Linked DNA regions of Homo sapiens: region 1 is linked to region 2. The links are contacts of gene promoters, found by promoter capture Hi-C in human tissues and cell types (Jung and others, 2019). All regions are on one chromosome and are shown on one strand. Each heading gives the region's core, a stretch centred on a gene start or on the middle of the fragment in contact. The rest is flanking DNA. Distances are from core to core; before and after follow the strand shown. Region 1 overlaps ZNF76 (zinc finger protein 76). Region 2 holds the start of SRPK1 (SRSF protein kinase 1).

Evidence for each region. Contacts are between HindIII fragments. The study calls those that stand out against the background at their distance.
Region 1: a fragment that was not itself captured here is called in contact with the fragment with the promoter of SRPK1 in region 2 in 1 of the 25 tissues and cell types used here (dorsolateral prefrontal cortex).

What each region holds. Positions count from the first base shown.
Region 1 is chr6:35,277,162-35,281,734 of GRCh38, forward strand. It overlaps ZNF76 (zinc finger protein 76), which reads left to right. Exons shown (of 14, transcript NM_003427.5): 2 at 3,895-4,063. The coding sequence starts at 3,991. Among named protein-coding and RNA genes, the nearest start is that of DEF6, 18 kb to the right of the region's middle. The HindIII fragment of the contact is 5,242 bases long and covers 1-4,476 here.
Region 2 is chr6:35,917,803-35,922,613 of GRCh38, forward strand. SRPK1 (SRSF protein kinase 1) reads right to left here and starts at 3,296. Exons shown (of 16, transcript NM_003137.5): 1 at 3,242-3,296; 2 at 2,666-2,726. The coding sequence starts at 3,254. RefSeq lists silencers at 2,959-3,548, 3,579-3,638. The HindIII fragment of the contact is 10,140 bases long and covers 1,409-4,811 here.

The DNA.
Region 1 (4,573 bases), core at 606-3,105, 640 kb before region 2:
GGGTTACCCAAAGAATCTACCTGATGAAGAGAGTGAAGCTTGAAGGTCAGAGCAGACCAAGAGAGGCCAGGAGCAGAGCTCTTGTGAGACAGGGACCACGTGGAGGTTATCAGGGCTCTGGGCAAGGATGCTAATAGACCAGAGATGTCAGATGTCAGAATCCCCACCTTGACCAGTGGTTCTTCACCATTAATCCCTATCAGACCCTGATGACAGCCTTGGATTTCCCTCTCTCCTGGAAAATGCAAAGGCTCACACACCAAAAAAGTATTTTGGAGTAGCTTCAAGTTTCATAAACCCCCAGCTTCACCTCTGTGCTTCGCAGCATAGTAATTAAGGTCACACTCTGGATTAAATGGCCTAGGGTGAAATCCTCCTTTACTAGTTAGCTGTGTAACCTTGAGCAAGTTACTTAACTTGGTCTTGGGCCTCCAGTTCCCTCACTTTTAAATGAGGATAATCATAGCATTTGATTGTAGGATTGTTAGAACTAAATGAGTTAATGTATGTGACATTCCTAGCACGTGGTTAACTCTATAGTAGTGTTCACTATATAATAGTATTGCTGCCCTTGCACCTTAGCCCATTTAGTAAATGTTTATGGACAGAATGAATGAATAATTCTAGTTGAGATGCCATGCCTGGGGTAGAGCATTCCAATCAGCGTGTCGCAGTTGGTCTATAGGTTTTTTTGGGTTTTTCGTTTGTTTGTTTTTGAGACGGAGTCTCACTCTGTCGCCCAGGCTGGAGTGCAGTGGTGCAGTCTTGGCTCACTGCAAGCTCCGCCTCCCAGGTTTATGCCATTCTTCTGCCTTAGCCTCCCGAGTAGCTGGAACTACAGGCGCCCTCCACGCCCGGCTAATTTTTTGTATTTTTAGTAGAGACAGGGTTTCACCCTGTTAGTCAGGATGGTCTGGATCTCCTGACCTTGTGATCTGCCCGCCTCAACTTCTCAAAGTGCTGGGATTACAGGTGTGAGCCACCACGCCCAGCCAGTTTTTGTTTTGTTTTTTTCTTTTTTTTTGAGACGGAGTTTCGCTGTTGTTGCCCAGGCTGGAGTGCAATGACACGATCTCGGCTCACCGCAACCTCTGCCTCCCAGGTTCAAGCAATTCTCCTGCCTCAGCCTCCCAAGTAGCTGGGATTACAGGCATGTGCCACCATGCCCAGCTAATTTTGTATTTTTAGTAGAGACGGGGCTTCTCCATGTTAGTCAGGCTGGTCTCGAACTCCTGGATGGTCTATAATTTTGCCAAGATATTGATCCGCTCGCCCCTCAGGGCTGTCAAAGCCCCAGTTGGTCGCTTCTGGCTTGAAGCAGTGACATCTGCAATGTGAACTTCTGACTTTAAGCAGCAGCATCTGCAATGCAATGTACAAATATCTGTCTCTCTAGGTCCCCTGACATGAAAACAGTTTGGGTAGCACCAGTCAAAGATATCGGTTGGTAAGTCGTGAGAATCCAGTAGGCAGTCCAGATTCCAAGTCCAGGAGAATTTTGAGAATGGATGTCAAAGAGAGTCTTCACGACTGCACTGAGTTTAGAGGCCGTGGGCTTCCTGCAGGCTTCACAAGTGTTGGGGTCCACTGCTAGAGCAGGCTGCACACCACAGTGGGTACAGAAGATATCCTGCCAGCAGGAAGCTTCAGTGCTTCCCACCTTGCACATGAGGGACCCAGGGAGTCACTCACAGGATGTGTGGAGAGCCCACAGTGTGAGTTGCTGGAGAAACCACTGTGACGCAGAAACCAGGCTAGAGCCCAAAGCCTTGTGTAGGCAACGGACATTAAACAGATAGTGATGAGTACTGAAGTAGGTTGAGCCCAGAGGTGTGAGTGCTAGGAAAAGGTGGTACCTAGGCTGTGGGAGTTTATAACAACCCAGCCTTGTATGCAAGGTGGACTCTAAGAGCTGTAGGAAACTATGGAAGGGTTTTAGTCAAGGAAGTGGTATGTTTAGATTTGTACTCTTTTTTTCTTATAAATCTACTTTTATTTATTTACTTTTCATTAGCTTAAGTCCTTGAGGGGCACAGCGTCACACAGATTCTGTGTTCAATAGCTTTAGCAAGATTGCTTGGGAATTTAGCACAAACCATGCCACTGTTTCCATGGGCCTGAGTTTACCTTTCCCCAGATTATGCTGGTTTTCTTCAGTTTGCTGCCAGCAGTCAGTGTGTTGTTCTTTGCTTTATACATGTAAGTACATCTCTTGCCTAAATAGAATTAGTTTCATTTCGAGCATAAATACCTTCAATTTTTTTTTTTTTTTTTTTTTTTTTTTGGGACGGAGTCTCGCTCTGTCGCCCAGGCTGGAGTGCAGTGGCGCGATCTTGGCTCATTGCAAGCTCCACCTCCCAGGTTCATGCCATTCTCCTGCCTCAGCCTCCCAAGTAGCTGGGACTACAGGTGCCCACCACCACGCCCGGCTAATTTTTTGTATTTTTAGTAGAGATGGGTTTTCACCATGTTAGCCAGGATGGTCTCAATCTCCTGACCTCGTGATCCACTGTCCTCGGCCTCCCAAAGTGCTGGGATTACAGTCGTGAGCCACCGCACTTGGCCAATACCTCAATTTTAATAAGAGCTGTGTCCTCGCTTTGGTTCTGGAGGCCCCACTTACAGCTAGCAAAAAATGGCCTTGGACTACAGCCTTCCAAATGTATTGTATTTATCTTATTATTATTTTTGAGACAGAGTCTCTTTATCACCCAGGCTGGAATTCAGTGGTATGATCAAAGCTTACTGCAGTTTCAAATTCCTGGGGTCAGGCAGTGCTCCCACCTCAGCCTCTTGTGTAGCTAGGATTGCAGGCATGTGCCACTACACCTGGCTAATTTTTTTTTTTTTGTAGAGACAATGTCTTGCTGTGTTGCCCACATTGGTCTTGAACTCCTAGCCTCAAATAATCCTCCTGCCTCAGCCTCCCAAAGCACTGGGATTACAGGCATGAGCCACTACACCCCGCCCATATTTGCCTTTTGGAAGTCCTGTTCTCAGCAGGCCTCTACAGGCTCCAAGATAGTGGGAAGAGAGCTTTTTTTTTAAATTCACCCTGACAGCATAAACATGAATGTTAGAACATGAGTTGGAAGAGGCTGAGGCAGGAAGATCACTTGAGCCCAGGAGTTCGAGGTTACAGTGAACTGTGATGGAGCCACTGCACTCCAGCTGGGCGACAGAGTGATACTTTGTCTCTAAAAAAGGAAAGAAAAGAAAATGAATTGGAAACAGACAAAAGTTTATCTGAGGACATAAGTTATAAGGCTCCTTATAGTTGTCCAGAGGTGAAAGGTGAGACATGCCTGAAATAAGTACCTGGACTTTTAAGGGAAAAGGAGGACTCAAGCATGATCCCCCCCCCCCCCGCCCTGAAGTTCTGGGTGGAAGGCGATACCACCCCTGGGATAGGGGATACTGGAAGTACAATAGTTCTGGAAGGTTGGGACACATTGTGAGTTCTGTTGAGGACTTATTCCACGTGTGGTACATGTGGGATGTTCCCTGAGGATGGTTAACAAGCTCAGTAGATAAATGGGTCCGAGCACAGGAGAGATGTTGGAGTAGGCAGAGAGAACCATCAGCAGTGGGGTTAACTGCCTGCCTTCAGCAGGGCTCCTTCCTAAGGGGAGAAAGTTTAGAAATGGGTTTTGATCAGTGATTTCTTACTTTATGACCAGTTTGATTGGCATGCTTCTCTTCTATGCTTAACTTTTAGAATTCTTAGATAATGTGTATTTTGAGCCCTTTTCATAAAAACCAATATAGTTCACTACTTTGAAGAATTCATCTTTTTTCTTCTTGGCTGGCTGGCCTCATTAACTCCTTCCCTGAGTGTCTTTGCGATAGGAGAAAGCTGGTTAACTCATAATGTGATACTGTTTATTTTCTTAGATTTGTGACCCAGAAGGAAATCTCTGACCTCAGCTGTGGCTCTTGGTGCTGGCCAGAAGCCAACTTCATGTCTGAGTGCACGAGCAGCAGTTTGCCATGGAGAGCTTGGGGCTGCACACGGTGACCCTTAGTGATGGGACAACAGCCTACGTCCAGCAAGCTGTCAAAGGTAAGTATTTCTGGGGACCTCAGGATCCTGCCCTGTCCCTCAGCCTCTGGAAAGGAGTGTCCATTTCTAAGAGTCCCACCATCACCTTGCCCTCCCGCCTGCTTACCCTTGCCCACCACCACAATTTGCTCTGCATTAGAATCTCCTGTGGTGCTTGATGAAAAGGGAACTCTAAAATAAAATGCTACAAGTCAGACAATCCCAGTCATAGGAACCAATACCTCTCAAAGACAGAATTCCTAATATGTAATAAGCAGTTGATAAATATTTCTGGAATGAACACAGTGTTAGTTATGACTCCCTGCTTTTCAGATATCCCCTGTCACAGTTTTTTAGTGCTTTCTAGAAGCAGTTTATCATCTTAATTCAAGTATATTCAAACATTCAAACTACTAAGCATCTGCCATGTACAAGATGCTCTTTTAAGCCAGGCATAGTGGCTCATGTCTATAATCCCAGCACTCAGAAGGCTGAGATGGAAAGATCACTTGAGGCCGGGAGTTGGAGACC
Region 2 (4,811 bases), core at 2,046-4,545:
TTATATCTTTAGGTCCTGATCAGTTTTCACTATGACTGAACTGCCAGTCAGGATATATACATAAGACTGTTTCCTTAACTAACTTGTCTAAGGTCAGATTGCTAAAAAGTAGCAAAATCAGAATTCAAAACCACATCTATCTCCAAAGACCAAACTCTATGGCATGCTTCTTCCTCAAATCTTCTTCCTGACTCACCTCCTGTAACTAGCAGCTTGCCTTAGCAAAGTAAATGGAAGTCATCAGGAGTGCAGTCAGAAGTCATGGAACAGAGTCAAGTTACCTTAGTTGAGGCTTGAACTTCTAACACAGTACTCTAACCAACTTAATTAGACATTTCAGCTACTTAAAAGGAGGCTGGGATACAAACAAAAGAAAAGAAAGACAGAAAGAAAGACAAAAAGGAAGAAAGAAAAAGAGCAAGGTGCAGTGGCTCATGCCTGTAATCCCAGCACTTTGGGAGGCTGAGGCAGGCGGATTACCTGAGCTCAGGAGTTCGAGACCAGCCTGGGCAACATGGCGAAACTCTCTCTCTACAAAAAATACAAAAATTAACCAGGCGTAGTGGCACACGCCTGTAGTCCCAGCTACTTGGGGGGCTGAGGCAAGAGAATTGCTTGAATCTGGTAGGTGGAGGTTGCAGTGAGCCGAGATCGCACCATTGCACTGCAGCCTGGGCAACAGGCTTTCTTTTTGCCTCAAAAAGAAAAAGAAAAAAAAGGTAGGTAAATTCAAAAACAAACAAACAAAAAAAACTTATTAATTGGAAACAAATCCAAAAATAAAACACCTCTGAAGTTACAAGGAAATGGGGGCAGTTCATTCACGCATATTTTCAGGATTCAAAGTTGTTCAAGATGAAATATTCAGTAAAATGACTGCTAGATTATCTATAATCCATACTTGCAAACAATTAACACAAATAACTCTAAGTTATCCATAGTAGTGAATGGGGTAACAGATACACATCTGACTTTAGAAATAAAGCATATGGTCTAAATAGATAATCGAAAGTAACAGATTTCTGGTGCTTAAAGTATATCATCTATATACATTTACCCCTCAAATTACAGCTTGATTTGGGCTAATCTCAAATTAATTTCTAAGTGGTAAGAGAGATCTGGACAAATAGTCTGAGAGACCAGGATTTCTAAAAAATACAGAGTAATATAATAAAAACTGCAACTTCCTTGTATCAATAGAAAAGAACGTTTTAACACATTCTCATCAATTCCACAAAGAATAACTAAACTAGGCACAGAAAAGTAACATTTCAAGTCCTACTGCACACTAGAACCAAGTTAGCACCTTGCTGTTTCTATTAAACGATCTAGGATTAAAAACTGGTTTTGAATAATCCCATATATGGATAATCCAAAGGTAAACAGACACACACAAACTCTCATTTACAAGACTTCGTCACCAAGCACTTACAAAATACATTTCATAAGACAGAAGAGAAAATGGAGCAAGAGGTGAGGTCACCTACCACTTTAGTTCTATTGAAAGAGAGAAGTCATTATGTGCTCTCCCCAAACAGTAGGTAGCCTCCAAAAACAACACACACCCCTACACCCCCCTAATCTGGTATTGTCATTCAGTGGGGTGACCTAGGAAGGCCTTTGAAATGTGTTGTATCAGCTCAGAGGGAATTAGACCGCATACGATGCCACAAAACATCAAATAAATGTAAAACTATAAAGATAATACATCTAAAATTAAGATGTATTAATAACTAGGCATACAAGCTCTCTCTGAATACAAAGTGTGTAAGAGCTGATTTCCAAGATCCTTTGCAATTAAACGTTAGTACATGATGAAAGTTCTTAAGGCTTAGCCTCACTTGCTGCTAAGCCTGCTACCTGAGTTTCTACTAGGCTGTGACCAACTTTTGAACTTGCCACGATAGCACTAAACTACTGTTATGCATCCTACTGATAAAACTGGACATGTGGCGCTTAATACGCCAAACCAGAATCATCAATGTTTGTTAAAGAACTCTCCCGTTACTATTGTGATGTCCACTCCGGAAGATTATCTGCATCTGGTTGAGGTTTAGACAGAAGAGAAGCAGTTAACAGACACCGACTGTATACACAGCGGTCTGCCGGCACACTGCAAAAAAGCCGATACGCCTTACAGGCTCAGGAAGTTGACTAACCCAGGGAAAAGCCCCATGCCCTCCTCTATGAAAGGGAGTGTGTGGTTGGTAGAACCCAAAGTAAACACGGAAAAATTCATTCAAGAATTTCCTTAAGGCCTACCGTGAAGACGTCGGAGGCAAGTTAAGACGTTGGGGAGCAGGTAAGAGAGACCAGAGTTCAGAAACAGACCGATAATGATCTACCAGCTCCGGTGGGGAGGTCCAAGCTAGGGGAGTTTGTGCCTCCTCTGTGGAGTTGGGGAGGAAAGGTACCGGGCGGGCTCTGGTCCTCCTCCGACAGCCCTTTCCAGCAGGCCCGGGGCTGCTAAGACCCAGGCCTGGCGTTGAGCAACAGCAGCTCTCTTCCACATGGTTGCTGGAGAGCGACCCTCCGAGCTGCCCCGAGGCCATGTGGCTGCAGCCACAGGGTGCCCAAACCCGGTGCACGTTCAAGACGTGAAACCAGAGCAGAGAAGGTGCCGGAGGAAAATCCAAAGAATGGGATGTTGGGGTACAAGACTCACTTCCTTTGGGCTTTGTCCTTCTTGGCCTTGGTCCTTTTCTTTCGGGCCTGGAGCGCAAGCACTGCAGGAGAGAGGGATGGATGAAGGGCGAATGTGGAGGAAAGGAGGCGACCAAGGTGAGGGTGGAGACCCAGCAGGGGCGCCAGGCCCGGCTGCGGGGCCTGCCTCGGGGGCGGCTGCGGGCTCCGGCGAGGCGGCCGGCCGTGGGGCTGGCGGCCCACGGGGCGCAGAGCAGCGCCCGGGCGGGATGCGCCGGAGGGGTCTCAGGCCGGGTCAGGGGGCGGGCGGGTGGGGGTCTGCGTCGCCCGCCAAGGGCCGGGCCCTGGAGTGGCCCCAAGGCGCGAGCCGGCCTGGCGGGGAACAAGGGGCGGCTACGGCCGGCGCCAGAGGACGCCCGGACTGAGGGGCGCGGACCCGCAGCCCAGAGGCAGGGGGTGTGGGGCGGCGCCACCTCAGTGGAGGGGCGCCGCACGTCCGGGAACCGAACCGCGGCAGTTAAGCGAAGCTCCCGGCGCTGACCCGGGCCTCGCCCCGGCGACCATTGCCCCTCGTGGCGGAGGCCGCTCCACCGCTCACCTTTCCGCTCCATGGTGAGACCGGTAATCGCCAGGCGCCTGCGCACTCGAGTGGCGGCGACTCCCGCTCCCGCCGCGGCCCAAAACCGAGCCCGCTCACACTCCGCCCTCAGTCCCGCCCCACCCCCGCCCCACGATGCCGCGCGCTTGCGCGTTGGGCGCGGAGCCTACCACCTGCTCCCGAGGAGGGGGCGGCAAGGAGAGGGAGGGGGCGCAGCGGGGAGGAACGCCGGGGTGAACGTTGAAGGAGTGTTAGAGATCCAAGCTTGGAAACCTGGCAAGGTTAGTTTTGTTCTATTTGTTTAGAAAAGGCGCAGAGAGCGGCAGGGCTCTCTGCATGCTGCTGAGTCAGAGCTTCGGAGGCAACTGGGATCTGCCTCAGTTTCCTGGCCTGTAAAATGGATTAATCAGGCATGTCCCAGTTTCTCCTTCCCTGAGCTATTGTGAGCCCAGTTGAGATACTATTTAAAGAAAATGGAAAAAAATTACATGTGAGAAAGAAAAGGGAGTGGGAGCAACACAAAAAGACTGGAAGGAAAGAACCTGTGACCCTATTATCACTTGAAAAGTAAAAACTTCAAAAGTGAATTTTCTCTTGAAATTTCAAGTTTAAGTGAAAGCTGTAAAGGAAAGAAGGGGAAATGAGAATAAAAACGTTTAATGTTTTCTTATTCTACCACCTTCAATACATGATAAAGCTGTCTTGTTTATAAGTTTTTTTTGTTTTTATTTTCTAAGTGCATTATCTCATTTGATGTTTATGGCAACTTAAAGGCAAAATAGTTATTACTTCCATTACACAAAGACACTAAACTTAAGAGGGCCTGCCTATATGTTCAGAATCTTGGTGTACGACCCAGTTATTTAATCATGAAGCCCTTATTGTATAGCAGGCTCAGCAAAGTTTTTCTTTGGGCCGTACAGTAAATATTTAGGCTTTGTGGACCATAAGATCTCTTTCTCAGCTACTCAACTCTGCCATTGGAGCTCAAAAGCAGTCATAGAAAATATGGGCTGTGTTCCTATAAAGATTTATGTATGGACACTGAAATTTGAATTTCATATAATTTTCACGTCATAAAATGTTCTTCTATTGATTTAAACATGGTCTTTGTTAGGTTTTGAAGGGAAGGTGAGGGTTAAAGAAAGACAGAGAGAGCAGTCTTGCTCTGCTGCCTAGGCCGGAGTACAGTGGCATGATCTCGGCTCACTGCAGCCTGGACATCCAGGGCTCAAGTGATCCTCCCACCTCAGCCTCCCAAGGTGCTGGAATTACAGGTGTGAGCCACTGAGCCAGGCCCTTTTGATCTTTTTTCAACCGTTTCAACGGTTATTCTTATTTCAGATCTTAGTTTACCAACCCATGTTGTAAAGTACCGCAGCTGGACAGAGTGGAAGCTCTGAAGACCTTTGCTCTGAACAAGTAATTGAGAAGGGAAGATGAGAGGGCAATAGTACAGCACAAGTCAAGCATGGGGGCTTTGGCAGAACTTATTGAGCAAAGTAAGTAATTAAGCCCATCCAGAGAAGGCAGTTTTTGAGCTGGGTATTAGGAAATATGTAAGATTTCT